7 separate regions of the Homo sapiens genome follow, and regions 1, 2, 3, 4, 5 and 6 are each linked to region 7. Evidence: promoter capture Hi-C in 16 types of primary human blood cells and fetal thymus (Javierre and others, 2016). All regions are on one chromosome and are shown on one strand. Each heading gives the region's core, a stretch centred on a gene start or on the middle of the fragment in contact. The rest is flanking DNA. Distances are from core to core; before and after follow the strand shown. Region 1 overlaps IQSEC1 (IQ motif and Sec7 domain ArfGEF 1). Region 2 holds the start of RAF1 (Raf-1 proto-oncogene, serine/threonine kinase). Region 3 overlaps OXNAD1 (oxidoreductase NAD binding domain containing 1). Region 4 overlaps IQSEC1 (IQ motif and Sec7 domain ArfGEF 1). Region 5 overlaps CAND2 (cullin associated and neddylation dissociated 2 (putative)). Region 6 overlaps CAND2 (cullin associated and neddylation dissociated 2 (putative)). Region 7 holds the start of CCDC174 (coiled-coil domain containing 174).

The links. Contacts are between HindIII fragments. The CHiCAGO score rates a contact against its expected background, and 5 or more counts as called.
Region 1: a contact is called between a fragment that was not itself captured here and the fragment with the promoter of CCDC174 in region 7, in 5 of 17 cell types (activated CD4 T cells, fetal thymus, naive CD4 T cells and 2 more). The highest score is 7.7, in activated CD4 T cells.
Region 2: a contact is called between the fragment with the promoter of RAF1 here and the fragment with the promoter of CCDC174 in region 7, in 5 of 17 cell types (non-activated CD4 T cells, naive B cells, total CD4 T cells and 2 more). The highest score is 9.5, in non-activated CD4 T cells.
Region 3: a fragment that was not itself captured here is called in contact with the fragment with the promoter of CCDC174 in region 7 in 1 of 17 cell types (total B cells); the score reaches 5.5 in total B cells.
Region 4: a fragment that was not itself captured here is called in contact with the fragment with the promoter of CCDC174 in region 7 in 3 of 17 cell types (activated CD4 T cells, naive CD4 T cells and total CD8 T cells); the score reaches 6.0 in activated CD4 T cells.
Region 5: a fragment that was not itself captured here is called in contact with the fragment with the promoter of CCDC174 in region 7 in 1 of 17 cell types (naive CD4 T cells); the score reaches 5.5 in naive CD4 T cells.
Region 6: a contact is called between a fragment that was not itself captured here and the fragment with the promoter of CCDC174 in region 7, in 7 of 17 cell types (non-activated CD4 T cells, fetal thymus, naive CD4 T cells and 4 more). The highest score is 13.5, in non-activated CD4 T cells.

What each region holds. Positions count from the first base shown.
Region 1 is chr3:12,965,531-12,968,230 of GRCh38, reverse strand. All of the region lies in intron 1 of IQSEC1 (IQ motif and Sec7 domain ArfGEF 1), which reads left to right. Among named protein-coding and RNA genes, the nearest start is that of LINC02022, 82 kb to the right of the region's middle. RefSeq lists an enhancer at 1-47 and silencers at 198-617, 728-777. The HindIII fragment of the contact is 2,939 bases long and covers 1-2,700 here.
Region 2 is chr3:12,662,860-12,665,599 of GRCh38, reverse strand. RAF1 (Raf-1 proto-oncogene, serine/threonine kinase) reads left to right here and starts at 1,483. Exons shown (of 17, transcript NM_002880.4): 1 at 1,483-1,787. RefSeq lists enhancers at 1,108-1,177, 1,218-1,567, 1,179-1,790, 1,791-2,401 and a silencer at 1,758-1,977. The HindIII fragment of the contact is 11,087 bases long and covers 1-2,740 here.
Region 3 is chr3:16,266,554-16,269,372 of GRCh38, reverse strand. It overlaps OXNAD1 (oxidoreductase NAD binding domain containing 1), which reads right to left. Exons shown (of 9, transcript NM_138381.5): 2 at 98-247. Among named protein-coding and RNA genes, the nearest start is that of OXNAD1, 2.8 kb to the right of the region's middle. The HindIII fragment of the contact is 443 bases long and covers 1,179-1,621 here.
Region 4 is chr3:13,015,166-13,018,013 of GRCh38, reverse strand. All of the region lies in intron 1 of IQSEC1 (IQ motif and Sec7 domain ArfGEF 1), which reads left to right. Among named protein-coding and RNA genes, the nearest start is that of IQSEC1, 57 kb to the left of the region's middle. RefSeq lists enhancers at 1-759, 1,221-1,330, 1,951-2,050, 1,336-2,103, 2,104-2,848 and 1 more. The HindIII fragment of the contact is 4,132 bases long and covers 1-2,848 here.
Region 5 is chr3:12,834,035-12,836,734 of GRCh38, reverse strand. CAND2 (cullin associated and neddylation dissociated 2 (putative)) reads right to left here. Exons shown (of 15, transcript NM_001162499.2): 15 at 1,932-2,700. It overlaps RPL32 (ribosomal protein L32), which reads left to right. Exons shown (of 4, transcript NM_000994.4): 4 at 512-2,250. The coding sequence ends at 641. Among named protein-coding and RNA genes, the nearest start is that of SNORA7A, 5.1 kb to the left of the region's middle. The HindIII fragment of the contact is 762 bases long and covers 944-1,705 here.
Region 6 is chr3:12,809,899-12,812,678 of GRCh38, reverse strand. CAND2 (cullin associated and neddylation dissociated 2 (putative)) reads right to left here. Exons shown (of 15, transcript NM_001162499.2): 5 at 2,355-2,620. Among named protein-coding and RNA genes, the nearest start is that of CAND2, 15 kb to the right of the region's middle. RefSeq lists a silencer at 2,143-2,592. The HindIII fragment of the contact is 687 bases long and covers 1,111-1,797 here.
Region 7 is chr3:14,650,452-14,653,151 of GRCh38, reverse strand. CCDC174 (coiled-coil domain containing 174) reads right to left here and starts at 1,390. Exons shown (of 11, transcript NM_016474.5): 1 at 1,274-1,390. The coding sequence starts at 1,315. LOC124909347 (a long non-coding RNA gene) reads left to right here and starts at 1,031. Exons shown (of 2, transcript XR_007095826.1): 1 at 1,031-1,483; 2 at 1,926-2,700. RefSeq lists enhancers at 1,078-1,147, 1,288-1,687, 1,191-1,849. The HindIII fragment of the contact is 1,793 bases long and covers 1-1,618 here.

The DNA.
Region 1 (2,700 bases), core at 47-2,546, 1.7 Mb after region 7:
CCACACGGTTCGGTCCAGGCAGGCAAAGGCCAGGTTTTATAAACTGAAGGCAAAATCGGGATAGGCAGATGTTGAGTAGGCATCAGCGGAGTAGGCTCTGGTTGGGGGTTTGGCGCTGTGCATTTGTTGTGGTTACACGCTGGAGAGGAAGACATGGCTCCCGGGAGGCGCCAGTGTTGGAGGGGCTGCGCAAAGTCCTCCTTCCAGAACAGAGGCTTCGCGCGCTGGGACCTGGATGCAGTGTCTGGGACTCCGCCCTTGCGCTCTGCACCCCGCGCCTCGGCTCGGCCCCGCCCCTGCGCGTAGCCCCGCCCCTGACGCCCCGCCCCTGACCCCCCGCCCCCTGTGCTTCTTCCGCGGCGCCGTGTGGCCACGCCTCCTGTGCTCTCTTCCCCACACGCTCCGTGCAGTCTCGCCCCCGCGCGCAGCCCCGCCCCCAGCTCGCCCTCCGGCCCCGCCCCCAGCTCGCCCTCCGGCCCCGCCCCCGCCCTGCCCCGCCCACTTCAGGGCCACATTCCTCCGGCCCGGCCTCGCGCTGCGCCAAGCGGGCGGCGGCGGAGGGGCGGGCTTGGCTGGCCTGGGGCTCGGACTTGGGGCCGGAGCCGCGGGAGCCGGCGGACGCTGGACCAGGAGCCCCGACGTGATCGCGTGGCGGGTGGTCGGGTCTCCGGGTGGCCGGGTGTCGGCCCCGGGATCCGGCGGCTCGCTGGCGGGAGTCGGCGGCCTCTGCTGGGCCTGGGTCCCGGCTCCCGGCCCGGCCCGCTCCCACTGCGGCCGCCATGTGGTGCCTGCACTGCAACTCGGAGAGGACCCAGTCCCTTCTGGAGCTAGAGCTTGACAGCGGGTGAGGGCGCGGCGCGGGGCGAGCGGCCTTCCCGGGTGCTGAGCGGTGGGCTGGCGCAGGCTGTGGGGATGCCTGTGCGGGAGTGCGGGTGACCGTCGGGACCGGGCGCCCGGCGTGCGAGAGAAAGCTGCCTGCGGGGCGGGGTGCGTCCGCCAGACTGTGGGTTTGGGTGAGAGAAGAGCAAACAGGACCCGAGTTTGTGCGTGGGAGAGAGAGACGCGCCCTTGGGACAGGAGCGCTGTGTGTGCCCTGGGAGGGTCTCAGGATGGGAGTGTGTGTGTGTGATCGAGGGCCTGTTGGAGTGCAAGTTGGTGTGGGGGTGAGTTTGAGTTTGGGGGCTTGAGAGGGAAACAGTGGGACTCGGTGTGGGTGTGAGGTGAGGGGCAGGAGGGAGAGCGGAGAGTTGGTGGGAGGGTGCCCAGCGGGTCTGTGCCTGTTTCCAACTGCAGGCAGGGCCGGAGCTGCCAGGAAGGCCTCTTGCAGGCCTGTCTATTCCAGACATTGGGCCTATGTCTGGATTGATGTGTCTGTCCTGTCTGCAAGACCCCAAGTGTGTGTGAGGGTGGATGACCCTGAACAAACAGGCGTCCCAGGTGTGTCAGCAGCTTCTGTCGGGTACTCTGCCCCTGGCAGGGCCACTTGGGGGTGCACTGGGGTGTGTGGCTGCTGTTTGTGGCAGAGTGTGGATGTGAGGGGCTTTGTGTGGTGATGCGTGTGCACCTGGTGTGGTCAGGGATGGAGTCTGGTGTGTCAGAGGGGCCAACCCTTTTCTACTTAGGGGCCTGTGGGCGGCTGTCTGAGCTTCCAAGGGCCCGTGTTTATGGAGAGAAAGGGAGAAAGGGAGTGTGTGTGTATGTGCTGGGAATATTGATTTCCTCTCTGCGATGGCCAGCACAGCTGCCCCCTGAGCTATCTGCAGGCCCTTCTGAGGAGCAGGGGGGTGGGGCTAAGGGGATTTGTTGACAAGCTGACTTGGCTTATGTCAGGCCCCCTCTGGAGGAAGCCCACCTGGAGCTGTTTGATCTTTCAGTTCAAAAATTGTGCAGCGCATGTCCAGCAGTTGCACTGAGAACATGCATATGTCTCCCTCTGCCCCTTCCTCACCCCAGAGGCCTGGAGCGCTGAGCCTGAGCCTCCAAGTGGGGTTGGGGGGCTTCTCAAGGACCCCATTGCTCCTTGCATCTGGGGTGGAGGCCAGGCATGCTGCAGCTGCAAGACCATCTGTCTGGAATCAGTGGCAGCAGTCTGGACATGGGGGTCATGTTATTCATATCCCACACACACCCGCGGCCCTCATAGTCCATCAGCTGTCCCACCTGGTATTACAATTGCTTCTTACCCTTGTGGTACCAGCATCCTCATATTGCAGGAGAGCAAATCGAGGCTGAGCATTCAGTCTTGTCAGTACTAAAGCTCTGTGGTTTATTGAGTGCCTGCTATGTACCAGTCCCTGCTCTAGGCACCAGAGACACAGCAGTGAACAAAACATGGAGTCTTTGTCCTCATGGAACCAGCAGTCTAGTGGGGAACAAGAAACCATTAGCGTGCTCTCCTGGCTGCACCTCCCGCCTCCCTCTGAGCTGAAAGTAACTGGGGAGGGGTTTCTGCCCCTCCATTAGGACCATTCCAGTTGACATGTCCAGGCCACCTCTCTTGCATACTTCTCAGTCCCACATCCCTTCTCATTAGAAGTCCCTCCGGGCATCTCATCTCAATCTTCCAGCTTCAGGGAAGCCTGCTTGGATCCTTCTGTGGTCTGGGTTGGTGATGAACAGCTGCTCCCCCAGTCTCAGAACATGAGGCAGAGGTCTTGGAGGTTGAGAAGCCTCGCTCAGGTGTAGCCCATAGTTCACGCA
Region 2 (2,740 bases), core at 234-2,733, 2.0 Mb after region 7:
GGTTTCACCATGTTGGCCAGGCTGGTCTCAAACTCATGACCTCAAGTGATCTGCCCGCCTCGGCCTCCCAAAGTGCTGGGATTACAGGCGTGAGCCACCACGCCCAGCCATGTCTTTTTTTTTTTTTTTTTTGAGACAAGAGTTTCGCTCTTGTTGCCCAGGCTGGAGTGCAATGACGCGATTTCGGCTCACCGCAATCTCCGCCTCCTGGGTACAAGCAATTCTCCTGCCTTAGCCTCCCGAGTAGATGGGATGACAGGCATGCACCACCATGCCCAGCTAATTTGGTATTTTTATTTTTTTATATTTATTTATTTTTTCGAGACGGAGTCTCGCTCTGTCGCCCAGGCTGGAGTGTAATGGTGCGATCTGGGCTCACTGCAACCTCTGCCTCCCGGGTTCAAGCGATTCTCCTGTCTCAGCCTCCTGAGTAGCTGGGATTACAGGCGCCCGCCACCACGCCCGGCTAATTTTTGTATTTTTAGTAGAGACGGGGTTTCTCCATGTTGGTCAGGCTGGTCTCGAACTCCCGACCTCAGGTGATCCGCCTGCCTCGGCCTTCCAAAGTGCTGGGATTACAGGAGTAATCCCAAAAAAAGCGCCGGGCCCTTTTTTTGTTGTTTTTTAAATTCAGTAACTATCTAGTTCATTCTTGGATGGATGACAACCCAGATTGGATGTGTAGCAGCGTTCTCTTAACCAGTTTCCTATTAATCTTCATTTCATCCCCAGTGTTTCTCCAGAATGCAAATAATATGGCATTAAATATCTTCACACATAGCTTTTTGTGTATGTGTATACTTATTTCTCTAGAATTAGTGTCTAGAAGTGAAACTGCCGGGAGGAAGGATATATACTTTTAACATGTCCAAGTTCCACTGTGATAGCGCTGCGAGGGCACACAACAGGTTTCAATATACCTTGGACCAAACCGGATATTATCAGTTTTTTTAACTTGTTGCTAATGTGATGGGGGAAAAATGAACTCGGAATTTACACACAAGGAAAAGACCGTTTAAGGTTCAGGGACTGTCCACATAGCTGTCAAGTGGCGGAGCCGTGATTTGGTATTAAAGTGCCCGGAGAGGACGCGTCAAAGTTGGACACTGTGCCCTGTGTCCTGAGGCACGTCTGGTGATCGCTGGGCCTTGCAATGCTGGGCAGGCAGGCCTTCCTCTCCCCTTCTAGGCCTCTGGCCACTCCTGGCTGGCCGAAAGCCGGTTCTTCTCGATTACCGAGTGCCTCTCCTGAAAGCAAGTCAGCGTCGCCTAACCTCTTCAGCTTCGAAATGGCGGCCACCAGATCGCTAGGCCACGCCCCGGGGGCGGGGCCTGAGTTCAGGCCAGAGCGATGGATGCCCGAGCCAAGTTAGAAGTCGACTGCCAGTAGGGCTCGCGCAGAATCGGAGAGCCGGTGGCGTCGCAGGTCGGGAGGACGAGCACCGAGTCGAGGGCTCGCTCGTCTGGGCCGCCCGAGAGTCTTAATCGCGGGCGCTTGGGCCGCCATCTTAGATGGCGGGAGTAAGAGGAAAACGATTGTGAGGCGGGAACGGCTTTCTGCTGCCTTTTTTGGGCCCCGAAAAGGGTCAGCTGGCCGGGCTTTGGGGCGCGTGCCCTGAGGCGCGGAGCGCGTTTGCTACGATGCGGGGGCTGCTCGGGGCTCCGTCCCCTGGGCTGGGGACGCGCCGAATGTGACCGCCTCCCGCTCCCTCACCCGCCGCGGGGAGGAGGAGCGGGCGAGAAGCTGCCGCCGAACGACAGGACGTTGGGGCGGCCTGGCTCCCTCAGGTAGGTGGCAGGACCGGGTCGTGGATGCCGGGGGAGCCGGGCGGCGGGGCTGAGGGATCGGCTTCCAGGGCGACCGGGCCTGGGTGGCGCTGATGGAGCGGCCCCGCGGCTGCCGGGCAGAGGGCTTGGGCCAGGCCGTTGTCACCCTGGGGTAGCGTTGGGCGGGGGCCCCGGAGTCCGGTGTCATGGCCGGCGAGCCGAGTTCCCACATCCCACTCAAATTTCCTTGTGTTTGGCGGAAACGTGCCAACGCCACCCTTATGCCATGCGCATTCCTCATATTTGGCAGTGGGAAAATCCGCCCAGAGCTGCCCCATATCTGTTGTCACTTGGATGGGCCAATTCCTTTTCTCTTGGGCCGCCGAATGTGGGACCCGGGCTTGCACCCTTTCTCAGGGTACTTCAGTCAAGTGACACCCTTTTAGAGACGACGTGAGGAATCGGGTAAGAGAGGAGGAAACTGGCCAGTGCCCTACCACAAAGGCACAGGGGCCTCTTCTTGGGTATCAGGACTAGCCTTGGGTATCAGGACTCTGGGTTATTAATGAAAGGTTTGGGATACTTATAGAGGATTGGCCTCAGGACGCTTTGGAATGAAGAGCCAGGGCTGTCTTTTGTGTGACGCGAGAGCCGCCGGGACGCTTCAGCTCTGCAGCTGCTGAGGCTCTGCGAGCGAGTCGATGCCCAAGAGAGAGGGGTTTGGACGTCGTGAGAGGCGAGGCGGCCGTGTTCATTCATTGTTCTCGTTCTAGGGCTCTGGGTGTGCCCCTGGTATTCATTCTGTGGTGGGAAGAAGGAATGGAACTTAGTGTATCCTTGAGATGTGAACGGGTTCTAGGGGGTCACTTAATCTAAGTGGAAAATGAATTCAAGGCACGTTCATTGAGCGTTTCTGCTTGCCTGGTCCTCTGTGGGCTGAGTGGAGAGACTCTGCCCTCCCTGCGCTCCTAAGG
Region 3 (2,819 bases), core at 151-2,650, 1.6 Mb before region 7:
AACCTCATTCAAGACCACTAAACGTAGTTTTTCTCCATTAAATGTTCTAAGTCAATAATGTTACCTTAATCCCTGAAAGAAAGAAGTTGAAACTTACCTTAGAAGTCCACGAGATTTTAGGAGTCATTAAGTATATGGTCAGCTGATTGACAGAATATTTTGGTCCTGCTATTACACTGAGACTTTTGGATGTACAGCAGTTGGAACATGGACAGCTTTTCCATGCATTAAAATTCTCACAAAGTTCCTGCAATGGCACAAACAACATATAACAATGTTTTGGGGAACTGATCAAAAGCACTATTACCTCTTAGCTGCCAAAGGAAAGGCTCATTAAAATCAGTAGGCATCACCTCACAACAAGCCCACTCTCAATTACCCCCTCTCCATCCATTCTTTCCTCCATGCTTCCATTTTTCTTTTTTGATTATTTATCTTACAGCTTATTTTGTTCATCTTCCTTGCCTGTCTTTAACACCTGCTACTTAGGATATCCACCCCAGGAAACAGCAGACCAAAGGCTAGAATGACACAGTTACATGTCATTTAAGGCCAAGTTCCCTGATAAAATTTAACCACTATATTGTTAAATATGGAAATACTGTTCTGTTCAATGTTTTAGACAACTATTGCTAAAATAAGTTGTCCTCACAATAGGATACATCATTTAATGATTATGCTGTTTGAATGGTCCCCTTCTCAACTGAACTGGAAAACAAATGTTAATTTTAAAAGTAGTTCTTCCCGGGCACAGTGGCTCATATCTGTAATCCCAGCACTTTGGGAGGATGAGGTGGGTAGATCGCCTGAGGTCAGGAGTTTGAGACCAGCCTGGTCAACATGGTGAAACCCCATCTCTACTAAAAATACAAAAAATTAGCTAGGTGTGGTGTCGGGCGCCTATAATCCCAGTTACTAAGGAGGCTGAGGCAAGAGAATCGCTTGAACCTGGGAGGCGGAGGTTGCAGTGGGCCAAGATCATGCCATTACACTCCAGCCTGGGCAACAAGAGCGAAACTCAGTCTCAAAAAAAAAAAAAAAAAAAAAAAAAAAAAAAAAGGAGTTCTCTTTAAAATCCTAAGATTTTATTTTGTGAAAGTAACCATGACCAAGAGTGCCACCTACTGGTAAATAAAGGACATTTTTATAAAATTCTGTTTAAAGTGCTTTCCAAAGCTTTATGCCAGTCCTTTAAATAAAATATAAAAAATTTAAAACCTACTAATTTTTTGAAATATGTCCGGCGGTTCCATACTGTAAGCATTTAATCAACCACAGCAGATCAATATATATCAAGTTATTTCTAAAACCATATAAAGTAGACCATCCCATCAATGTCTGTATCCTCACAGGCCTTCCCTTACCAAAAAATCTTAATTAACTTTATTTCTGAAATGCAGAAAAGTATAATAAGTGCTAAATAAAACTGACACCCATTAAATATGTAGTAAAACAAACTTCTGAAAGCAACAGATTAAATTTAACATTTAAGATTAATTATATGGTTTCAGTTCAACAGGTATACTCAGTTCATTCAACAACTACAGGGGTGCCAGGCACTATTTTAGGCCTTGGAGATATAATAAAGAACCAGACGCAAGGCCCTTGCCATCATGAAGCTTTTATTACAGTTCCAGAGACAGATAGTAGTAAACAAATAACAAGATAATTATAGATTATGATGAGTATGATAAAGGGAGTAAGAGTGATGGGGTAGGTGGGGGAAATATCAAGAAAGACATCTCTCCAGTGATGACACCTTGGCTGAGATCTGAATGATGAGGAAAAGGCGGCCAAGCAAATGTTAAAGGCAGACAACTCTGGCAGAAGGACTAGCAAGAGCAAAGGTCCAACACAGAAATAAGCCCGGCATGTTAAAGGAACCAAGGCCAGTGTGACTGGAGAGCAGTAAGCTGGTAAGAGTGAAATGAGATGAAGTCCAGCAGTCTATAGTAAGGGTAAGAATTTTATCCTAAGGGTAATGGGAAGCAACTGAAAAGTCTGAATCAATCAGGAGAAGGACAAGACCTAATTTATATTTTTAAAGGACTGCTCAAGTTGCTGTGGGAAGGATAACAGAGGGAGAGGGGCAGGAGTGGAAGCAGGAAACCCAGTTAAAAGACTCTGGTCTAAGATTATAATAAGGTAACAGCTACAGAGATGGCAGAAGTAGATGAACATGACATATATTTTGGAATTAGAGCCCCAAAACTTGCTGATACATTAGGCAGGGTGTGAGAGGACACTGACAGAGAAAAGCCAAGAATGCCTCAATAAGCATAAATGCACTGAAATTAAGTAAGTTCAAAGAACAATCATGACATCTGTCAATTTAGAATCTTAGGTGTCACTGAGGAAGAAAAAGGGCTCCTCTTGCTCCAACAGGCAAAGACACCTTAGTGGTAAACAAGTAGTATACACAGAGTATTTGACCGGAAATCAGCGGAACTGGGCTCAGGTGTGACTCCTTCCTGCTTTCTAATCTTCAGCAAGTCTCCTCTTGCCATTTTAACATTACCCACGCCACCTCACTGGATTACTGAGAGGAATAAATAAAATGTCTACCAAAGTACCTGGCAAGCAACAGTGTTACTAAAATCAATCCTAATACATTGACCCCTTCTCTTCCTTGTCAAACAACCTAGAGAGGTGGAGGTTTGGTATTGCCAATAAACAACTCCTTCTGGCCTGATATACAACAGCACTCATCAAATATAGTTTGCATTATACAATTATGACCTACTTCTTTTTTTTTTTTTTTTTTTTTTTTGAGACAGCGTCTAGCTCTGTCGCCCAGGCTGGAGTGCAGTGGCGTGATC
Region 4 (2,848 bases), core at 25-2,524, 1.6 Mb after region 7:
GAGACCAGGACTCCCTGAGGCTGAGGAAGGGGTCACCAGCCTCCTCCCCACCCACGCCTTCTGGACACACCCTGGCTCGTGCTGTCTATCTCCGGGAAGAGCCCAGAGCTGAGTTTGGGATGGGCAGGAGGTCCTGGGCAGAGCAGAGCAGAGCCGCCACTTCTCTGGCTCTGGGCACTGCCTGGAGCACACATAAATTCCCTTATGGCTGCTTTCCCCTTTCACCCGTGGGCCTCACCATTGCCTCAGCCCTGCCAGCCTCACCTCCCTCTCCTCGGTTCCCATCTCTGCTAGTGACTGCCGCCCCCTCTCCCTGCATCGAGTCTTCGTTCAGGGGATGAAGACCTACTCTGTGCCTGACACTGTGCCAGGTGCTAACTATCCATTCCCACATCCAGCCAGCTAGCGCCCACCCTGTGAGGAGCACTGTCCCACAGCACAGAGGAGGACCTGAGTCCAAGGCTTTGCGTTACTGGTTTCCTCACCGGAGTTGTGGGTGAGGCTCTTCTTGGCAAGCACCACAGGGCAGCACTTGTCGCCGAGAGCTCAGAGCCCAGCAGCAAGGCGGCATGGGCATGAGCCACTCTGACACATGGGAAGAGGCTTTCTTCCGCTGATCAGCAAGTAGTTTGCTGAGCACCTATTGTTTGCTGCCCCGGGCTAGACCCTGGGGATACAGCAGTGAGTGAGGTGGACACTCAGGCCTCCTGGAGCAGATAGATGTTCAGGTGAGAGAGAAATGATAAAGAGAAAATAAACAAATGAAGATGCCTTCAGGCAAAGATCGGTGCCAAGAAAATAAAACAGGGAGGGATGACAGAGTGATCGGGGAGAGGGAGCCACATGGCCTGGGGAGGTCAAGAAGGGCCTCTCCCAGTGGCCGTCAGTGGATGAATAGATAAACACAATGTGGTCTGTCCATAGTGTGGAATATTATTCAGCCACAAAAAGAAATGAAGTTCTGGCACGTGTTACAGCACAGGTGAACCTTGAGGACATCATGCTAAGTGAAAGAAGCCAGACGGAAGACCACAGAGCGTATGGTCCCGTTTCTAGGAAATGTCCAGAACAGGCAAATCTATAGAGACGGGAGGTAGGTTTGCCGTGATCCAGGGCTGGGGAGGGGTTCTTTTTGAGTGATGAAAATATGCTAAACATAGATAGTGGTGACAGTTGCACCCCTCTGGGAATATACTATTAATAAAATCATTGAACTATACATTTTAAATGGGTGAGTTGTATGGTGTGTGAATTATATCTTAATAAGACTGTTTGAAAAGAAAACAAAGACTCGTCTGCAGTGGTGGCCTTGCGTTGAGAGTGACAGGGTGGAGTGAGTTTGTGAGGACCTTGGGGAAGAGCAGGCAGAGAGAGCAGCTGGTGTAAGGACCCTGAGGTCTGTGTGCACCTGCAGGAGGAGCACAGAGGAGGAGGCTGGCAGGAGTCGAGAGGGCGGGAGGAGCAGTCCCCGTGGTGGCAGGGCCAGATCCTGGAGAGGGCTTGAAAGTTGACTGGGGCGGGAGAGCCACGGCTGGGTAACATTGCTGTGCTTTCTGTTTTAAAACCGTCACCCGGGCTGCTGTGAGGAAATGAGACTGTGGAGAGGGAGTGGTGGGGCGTTGGGGGCAGGGAAGGCCGGTTGAGATGTGGCGGCCGGCCACTGTTTAGATGAGAGATGACAATTGAGACCCAAAGAAGGAGACAGACAGACTGGCTGGCGGTTGCAGTGGGAATTCAGACAGGGACAGAGCACTCCTGGCGGAGAGGAGGCTTCCTGGAGGAGGGGCCTGGGCCCGGACACTGGCAATGTCAGGATGGGCTGGTGGCGGCTCTCCAGATGGCACCCCTGTGGGGGATGTGGGGGGCCCTGCCTGGCCATGGGGAGACGAGACTGGCCACCCTACCCTGGCACCACCCCTGGGTCCCCTTTGGGCCCAAGCTGCTAAGTAAGTAGGGCACCCTCTCTCCAGGGACCCCTGTCACACTACTTTATGCTGCTGGCTCCAGCTGGCCCTCCGTGACAGTGCAGTGCCCATGTGGCCAGAGACCCAGAAGGGGCCCGGCACTCTGAACAAAGCAGTCTGCCTGGAACTTAAGTGGCCCTGAAACACGATCAGGCACCAGAGACTGTCCAGGGAGGTGGGTGTATTATTTATTGACTGGGGCCTGCCCAGTGAAGCCATTTGGGTTTGCCAGACCTGGAAGGAGCCCCCTCAGCAGTGCCTGGGGGCCTTTTGGAGGGCAGGTGGGCGGGGGCCCCAGGGTGCCTGGCACCCTCTCCCCTGGGTGTGGTTTCCTGGATGCCGACTGAGCAGGGAGGAAGTCAGACGTCAGGACCTGCTGTGGGGATGGACCCACAGCTCATCCCCCGGGGCCGCAGAGGCAGGCCAGGCACTGGGGTTCCAGGGACACCTCCGCCCCCTCCACTTTGAGACTGTGAGTACCACCCACCTGGCCCGGGGAGGGGACCTCAGCAGCCCTGAGAAACCTGTGAGGGGCTGGCGACTGTCAGGGCAGCCTGCCGTGGTGAGGGTCTTGGGGGCTGTCGTCAGAGTTTTCACTGTTTCTCAGAGCTGTATTCTGTGACCCGTTTCTCACTGCCTGGAATGCACACAGGCTCGCCCTGGGCCCAGGAACACCAGGTGTTTCCCCACAGCCGCAAGGGGAAGTTCTTTAGCTCCCCTGCGCGTTAGACCAGCCCCAGGCCCCATTAGGGTTGAGAACCAGGGCCCCGCAGCCCACCTGGATGGCAGGGAGTGTTGGGTCGCTGCCTACGGCCCTCACAACCACCCTGAGAAAGATGGACTCTTGACAATGCCCAGTTTACAGCCGAGTAAACTGAGGCCCT
Region 5 (2,700 bases), core at 75-2,574, 1.8 Mb after region 7:
CATGGCTATGACTGGGTGACTTTAAGCATTGTTGCTTCTCAACTTGCTTTGTATCCTCAGCAGTCAAACCAGGTGCTCTTGGCTCCATTCAGACTCTTGGGTTCTGCTCTTGACCATTTTGCAAAGAGTTCTGAACCTTCATGGGCAAGGTCAAGCACCCTGTGACTGGGGGAGAACCTTTGAACCTGGAGTGTGGGCCTGGGTTCGCCCCGGATCCCTGTCCATTGCTTGCTGTGGGCCTTGGTTTCTTTATCTGTAAAATGGAGGTAATGCCTGGATTACAAGGCTGCTATAAGGATGAGAGGGGACAATGAGGGTACTTTTTAATGAAAGCATTCTTGTCACCACCAGGGAACCATAGTCAGGATTTGGGGGCATGTAGGTGTCATTCCACAGCCACTTACCAAGCAGCCCTCTCTTAGCTTGGTGCTGGGACTCATTGCCTCTCCAATGGAATTTTCCAAGTGTGTTGAGGGCTGTCTTGCTCCTTACCTACTTGATTCTCTTGCAGATCTTACTGTGCCGAGATCGCTCACAATGTTTCCTCCAAGAACCGCAAAGCCATCGTGGAAAGAGCTGCCCAACTGGCCATCAGAGTCACCAACCCCAATGCCAGGCTGCGCAGTGAAGAAAATGAGTAGGCAGCTCATGTGCACGTTTTCTGTTTAAATAAATGTAAAAACTGCCATCTGGCATCTTCCTTCCTTGATTTTAAGTCTTCAGCTTCTTGGCCAACTTAGTTTGCCACAGAGATTGTTCTTTTGCTTAAGCCCCTTTGGAATCTCCCATTTGGAGGGGATTTGTAAAGGACACTCAGTCCTTGAACAGGGGAATGTGGCCTCAAGTGCACAGACTAGCCTTAGTCATCTCCAGTTGAGGCTGGGTATGAGGGGTACAGACTTGGCCCTCACACCAGGTAGGTTCTGAGACACTTGAAGAAGCTTGTGGCTCCCAAGCCACAAGTAGTCATTCTTAGCCTTGCTTTTGTAAAGTTAGGTGACAAGTTATTCCATGTGATGCTTGTGAGAATTGAGAAAATATGCATGGAAATATCCAGATGAATTTCTTACACAGATTCTTACGGGATGCCTAAATTGCATCCTGTAACTTCTGTCCAAAAAGAACAGGATGATGTACAAATTGCTCTTCCAGGTAATCCACCACGGTTAACTGGAAAAGCACTTTCAGTCTCCTATAACCCTCCCACCAGCTGCTGCTTCAGGTATAATGTTACAGCAGTTTGCCAAGGCGGGGACCTAACTGGTGACAATTGAGCCTCTTGACTGGTACTCAGAATTTAGTGACACGTGGTCCTGATTTTTTTTGGAGACGGGGTCTTGCTCTCACCCAGGCTGGGAGTGCAGTGGCACACTGACTACAGCCTTGACCTCCCCAGGCTCAGGTGATCTTCCCACCTCAGCCTTCCAAGTAGCTGGGACTACAGATGCACACCTCCAAACCTGGGTAGTTTTTGAAGTTTTTTTGTAGAGGTGGTCTAGCCATGTTGCCTAGGCTCCCGAACTCCTGAGCTCAAGCAATCCTGCTTCAGCCTCCCAAAGTACTGGGATTACAGGCATCTTCTGTAGTATATAGGTCATGAGGGATATGGGATGTGGTACTTATGAGACAGAAATGCTTACAGGATGTTTTTCTGTAACCATCCTGGTCAACTTAGCAGAAATGCTGCGCTGGGTATAATAAAGCTTTTCTACTTCTAGTCTAGACAGGAATCTTACAGATTGTCTCCTGTTCAAAACCTAGTCATAAATATTTATAATGCAAACTGGTCATTTTTGGGATTTTGTTTTTGAGACTCATTCTGTCACCCCGGCTGGAGTGCAGTGGCTTGATCTTGGCTCCCTGCAACTTCTGCCTCCTGGGTTCAGGCGATTCGATTAACAATTGGAGACGAGTCGTGCAGAGGAAAGAAGTAACTTAGAATCTAATCTTTATTAACCTGGGATATCACAGAAAATACTTGGGCCTGCCACTTGTATTTCTTTGTCCTCAATACTGAACACTAGACACATTTGAAACCTTCCTCAGAAGGAAACAAACCAACTGGTTATGCCTGGGTGGTGGCATGGAAGATGCCCATTGTTGCCCAATTTGCTAATAAGTATTTTGAAATTAGAAATGAAACATGAGGTCCAAGCCTGTCCAGTTCCCTACCCAACCCATTCCTCCTCCCTGGAAAAAAGAAACCCGTATCATCTTCCAAATTTCTGATTCATCACTGCCACTTAAAAATGAACCGTTTTGAATTTTAAAATGTGAATAACTCAAGTATCTTTTCTTTTGAGATGCCCGGCCTGAGCACTAACTTCAGGCATTGCTGAATGCAGTGAAGAAACCAGAGTGGTGTCTGCTGCCTCCTGATCTTTTACAGCTGACAGCACAGCCTATTTCTAAATACTACTAGTTTGTGAGGCAGAGACACCCTCTGAAGGAACCAGACAGACTATGGAGGGGTACAGTGTGAAGTCACTGGAAAACTTCCTCACCCTATTTCTTTGGATGACTGTCCTGAGTTAAGGAAGGGGCCCAACTGTTGGCAGCCTCACAGCTTGGGCTGGGGGCCTTTGAGTTGGGTCCCTGGAGAAGGCACTGTAAGCCCTGACCAGGAGCGACAGGGCCCCCAGTGAGATGGTGGAAGGGCAAAAGTAGAGACCTGCGATGGTGGGATGGGGAGGCCTCGGA
Region 6 (2,780 bases), core at 205-2,704, 1.8 Mb after region 7:
TAATCCCAGCACTATGGGAGGCCGAGGCGGGTGGATCATGAGGTCAGGAGATCGAGACTATCCTGGCTAACAAGGTGAAACCCCGTCTCTACTAAAAATACAAAAAATTAGCCGGGCGCGGTGGCGGGCGCCTGTAGTCCCAGCTACTCAGGAGGCTGAGGCAGGAGAATGGCGTGAACCCGGGAAGCGGAGCTTGCAGTGAGCCGAGATTGCGCCACTGCAGTCCGCAGTCTGGCCTGGGCGACAGAGCGAGACTCCGTCTCAAAAAAAAAAAAAAAAAAAAAAAAATTAGCCGGGCACGGTGGCACACACCTGTAGTCCCAGCTATTCAGGAGGCTGAGGCAGGAGAATTGCTTGAACCTGGGAGGTGGAGGTTGCAGTGAGACAAGATAGCGTCACCGTACTCCAGCCTGGGGGACAGAGCGAGATTCTATCTCCAAAAAAAAAAAAAAAAAAAGATAAACAGCTTAGGCCGGGCATGGTGGCTCACACCTGTAATCCCAGCACTTTGGGAGGCCAAGGCAGATGGATCATCTGAGGTCAGGAGTTCGAGACCAGCTTGGCCAACATGGTGAAACTCCATCTCTACTAAAAATACAAAAATTAGCTGCACGTGGCAGTGCGCCCCTGTAATCCCAGCTACTTGGGAGGCTGAGGCAGAATTGCTTGAACCTGGGAGGTGGAGGTTACAGTGAGCAGAGATCGTGCCACTACACTCCAGCCTGGGAAACAGAGCAAGACACGAGACTCAGTCTCAAAAAGAAAAAAAAAAAAGAAGTTAAAAAAGCTTAGTCCAAGGTTGGGTGCAGTGGCTCACCCCTGTAATCCCAGCACTTTGGGAGGCCGAGGCGGGCAGATCATGGGATCACAAGGTCAGGGGTTCAAGACCAACCTGGCCAACCAACATAGTTAAACCCCGTCTCTACTAAAAATACAAAAATTAGCTGGGTATGGTAGCGTGCGCCTGTAGTGCCAGCTACTCAGGAGGCTGAGACAGGAGAATCACTTGAATCCGGGAGGCGGAGGTTGCGGTGAGCCGAGACTGCACCATTGCACTCCAGCCTGGGCAACAGAGCGAGACTCCGTCTCAAAAAAATAAATAAAAAAGCTTAGTCCAGGTTCTACACGAGCAGGCACTCGATAAATAGCATCTGTTATCAAAACCATTATTCATGTCCTGGCCTAATTTCCTTCACTAGGTTTAAGTCCTTGGATAGGAGAAAGGGAGGCAGGTACTGCCCTAATAGACCAGGCAAGAGGGGTTCCTGCCTGGTCTCCAGGCTTTAGAGCACTCCACTCAAGCCCTTCTCCAGCCATACCCTTCCCTACAGCATAAGAAGAGACATGCTGACCTAGAGACCCCCAACACTCCTAGACTCCATTCTGTCTGGGTATCTGGGGACCCGAGTTTCCTGCCCAATGGATCCTGACCCCTTGTCCGAGCCTGCGCAGGCCTCTTTCCTAGGTCCATGCAACCAAGGATGGCTGAGGGCTGGCTGCTGTTTGGGAGAAATGGGACAGGGTGTGGCCATGTCAGCTGGGGTTCCCCCCCCCACCCCCCGCCGTGTGCCTGCAAGGCCCCTTGCAGTGAGAGAGCCAGGGGTTGGGAGGGGCTGACCATATGCCAGTTCTATCCAAACTGTCTTGGTATAGTCAGAACTCCAAGGTGTCTGAGGATACATTCAAACCTGATTGCAGCTTTCCATTTCTAAAAAACTAATCTATAGTGACAGAAAGCAGATCAGTGGCTTCCTGGACAAGGCAGAGAGCTGGACTGCAAACGGACACAAGGAAGCTTTTGGGGGTGATGGAAAGGTTTCACGGATATACACAAAGGTCAAAACACACTGAATTGCACACTTTAAATAGTGCGGTTTATTGTATGCACATTAAATTGTTTCTTAAAAATTCAAACTTGGCTCATGGGCTGTTACTAAGATATCTTTGTCAAACTGGGAGAAGAGAACATAGTCTAACAGTTTAGTGGCATGACTTAAAATTGTAATTACCAGCCAGCCTCCACGTCTCATAAGTGATTGAACCAACCCCCTTCTCTGAACCGTCTGCACTCAGCAGGGGCTCAGGCCTGGGGGTTTGTCGAGCTCAGGGCCCGCCCTGCGCCTCTCAAGCCCTATCCGGCCCCAACCTCTGCGTTTCAGGGGCTTCAGCCGCCCGCCCCAGGCCCCACCCACCACATCAGCCCAGGCCCCGCCCCATCCTCCCTACCAAGGCAGACGGCCCACCCTTAGGCCCTGGCTGCACTGCGGCCCAAGCTCCGCCCCTTTACCGAGTCATTGGCTCACCCTAAGCTCCGCCCACCATGCCAGCCCAGGCCCCGCCCCCTGCCCCCTTACCGAGGCGGTGGCCGGCCTGGCGGCCGACGCTGCCCAAACATTGGATCAGGGTGCGGATGGCAGTCGGGCTGGTGGGCACCCGCGGGCCGGGCAGCCGGTCCAGTAGGTGGTCAGCGAGCTCGACGAAGAGGTCGGTGCTGCAGGCGGCCGCCAGGTGGCCAAGCGCTCCGACCGCCCGCTTGCGCACCGCCAGGCGCGGGCTGCTCAGCTGTGGCAGCAGACAGTGCAGGAGGCTGGCGTGGAAGGCGCCCAGCGGGACACCCAGCCTGGGGAGCACGAGGGGGCATCAGGCCGATCGCACTCCGCGGGCAACCTGGGCCAGGCTCCGCCCCTCTCCCCATTCTCTCCCGGCCTCCTTCCCAGGATTATGGCAACTCAATGGCCCTTGCAAAAGAGGTGCCCTGCAACTGTGAGGAGGAATTATTT
Region 7 (2,700 bases), core at 141-2,640:
AACAAAATAATAACTGGTACCAATTTTAACCAATAATAGTTACCAATAATAACTAGTACTCAAATATTGGGACACCTATATGTTTTCCTTCCTACTCACTTTGTGTCCTAATACTCTGAAGTAAATTCAAGATTAAATCAAAGGTTGGGCAATTTGCTCTGATGATGAAAAGGCAGCAGCTTTGGAGTCAAGTAGAGTGAGTGAGAAAGGGTCTATCACTAAGATTTCTTCCCCCCGCCCCCCGCCCCTTAGACGGAGTTTCGCTCTTGTTGCCCAGGTTGGAGTGCAATTGCGCGATCTCGGCTCACCGCAACCTCCGCCTCCCCGGTTCAAGCGATTCTCCTGCCTCAGCTTCCCGAGTAGCTGGGATTACAGGCGTGCACCACCACGCCCGGCTAATTTTTTTATTTTTAGTAGAGACGGGGTTTCTCCATGTTGGTCAGACTGGTCTCAAACTCCCGACCTCAGGTGATCTGCCCGCCTCAGCCTCCCAAAGTGTTGGGATTACAGGCGTGAGTCACCGCGCCCGGCTATCACTAAGATTTCTGTCTGTAAGCTGGGGAAAGCTACTTCATCTTTCCAGGCCTCAATTTCATCATCCATAAAACGGAGATATTAATAGCACCTACCTCCTAAAGCCATTGGGAGGATTCAATGAGATAGTGCATATAAAGTGCTGGCACAAAATGTGTACTTAGAACAAGTTTTCTTTCTAGAGTAGCTGATGTAATAAATCTGCTTACATCCTTTCAGACCTCACAACTCCCTATGCCTGCATTAACAACTGTTTAGTTCCAGGGAGGGCACGCTGGACACTTTCGGGTCCTGCGAAATATGTCACACTCTAAAGTTCTGGGAGGACTTTGTGGGTCCCTGGATGGAGGAGAAACCAGGAAGAGGATATGTCTGCATAGCAAAAAGAAGCTAGGGTTCCTCCTGACTGTAAGGGAGAAGGCTGACGAGGTGCAGGTCCTTGTGGGCAGGGCAGAGGTGAGGCACGGAGTTTCCTAACCCACGGGACACCAGGTTCAGATCCGTGTCCGAGGGTTCTGGCCCGGGCGCATGTCAGAGGAGAGTAGCCCAATTCAGGGTCCTGTAAGAAAACTGAACCGGATCCCCGCCGGAGAAGAAAATCCAGTTCGGGGGTTCCTGTTTGAGGGGAGAGGTCAGGTCTCTGGGTCCCCGAGTGAAGAAACAAGCTAGGTCGACATTCTTGTCTGATGGAGACACGGTGAACCCGGAGCCCGTGGAGTTACCTCATACCCTCACTCACCGAGGAGGCCGTGACGTCCAAAGGCTTTTTCCTACGGTCCATGGTCGTGGCAGAGGGTCCCGGTCCAGGAAGGACCCTTTCTACCCGACACAGGCCTCGTAAGCCTACCTCCGTCGCAACCGGAAGTGTCTTCGACAGCGACACTGAGTTTGCGTGAGTTTGCGACGCGAGTTTGTCAGCTCAGCGCCATCTTGAGAAGGTCAGAGTGTGGTGCGTATTACGTTCACCATCATTTTGGAAAGGTCATAGAGTGCGGAGGTTGACGCTAACTGCTAAGGTCATCTTGAGGGCGGAAGGTAACAAGGATTGGTGTGGGCGCCATCTTGAGAAGGGCGGAATAAAGCTTTTGATTGCGATGGACGCCATATTGGGTGGGGCGGATGTGGGGTTGGCGACAAAGATAACGCCATCTTGGGGAAGGCTGACGCTTAAGTAAGTGAACTCGAGCGTCTCGGGAAAGGTGGATTGGGAGGACCGGAAGAATCTTAACTGCAATTCCAGGACCTGCTGCCTGGCACTTTTCACACGTTAAATAGTTGGTTCTTAAAAGAGCGTACGAGATAAGGATTATTATATTAATCTTAGTAGAAATAACAAGAATAATAGCTAACATTAATGTAGTGCTTATTATGGGCCACTTTACATATTTCAGCTCTTAAGAACGTGAACTCCTGGGCCGGGCGCGGTGGCTCACGCCTGTAATCCCAGCACTTTGGGAGGCTGAGGCGGGTGGATCAGGAGGTCAGGAGTTTGAGACCAGCCTGACCAACATGGTGAAACCCCGTCTCTGCTGAAAATACAAGAAAAAAAAAAAATTAGCCGAGCGTGGTGGTGCGCGCCTGTATTCCCAGCTACTCAGGAGGCTGAGGCAGAAGAATCGCTTGAACCTGGGAGGTGGAGGTTGCAGTGAGTCGAGATCAAAAAAAAAAAAAACAAAGAACACGTGAACTCGAAAGCTGACTTTCTGGGTTGGAATCGCTCTTCACGGCTTACTGCTTGTGTGACCTTGGGCAAGTTACTTAACTTCCGTGTGCCTCAGTTTCCAAAGGGGGATATAATTTTATTTACCTAATGGGTCTTAGTGAGGATTAGATGAGTTAAATGAGCTAGTCTTGATAAAAATGTTAATGATTATGGTAGACAGACCAATCACCCTCACCCCGACTCCCAGATGTCTACCTTCTAATCCCCAGAATCTGGGTATATGGTGACCTTTATATAGCAAAAGAGAATTGGCAGAGATGATGAAATTAAAGCGATTGAGATGGGGAGCTAGCCTGGATTGTGCAGGTGGGTCCCCTATCATCAAAACCATCCTTATAAGGGGTAGACAGGATGGCCAGAGTCAGACAGAGATCAGAGATGCTTTGAAGAGGGAGAGTGGGACCACATGCCTAGGTATGCAGGAGGCCGCTAGAAAAAGCAAA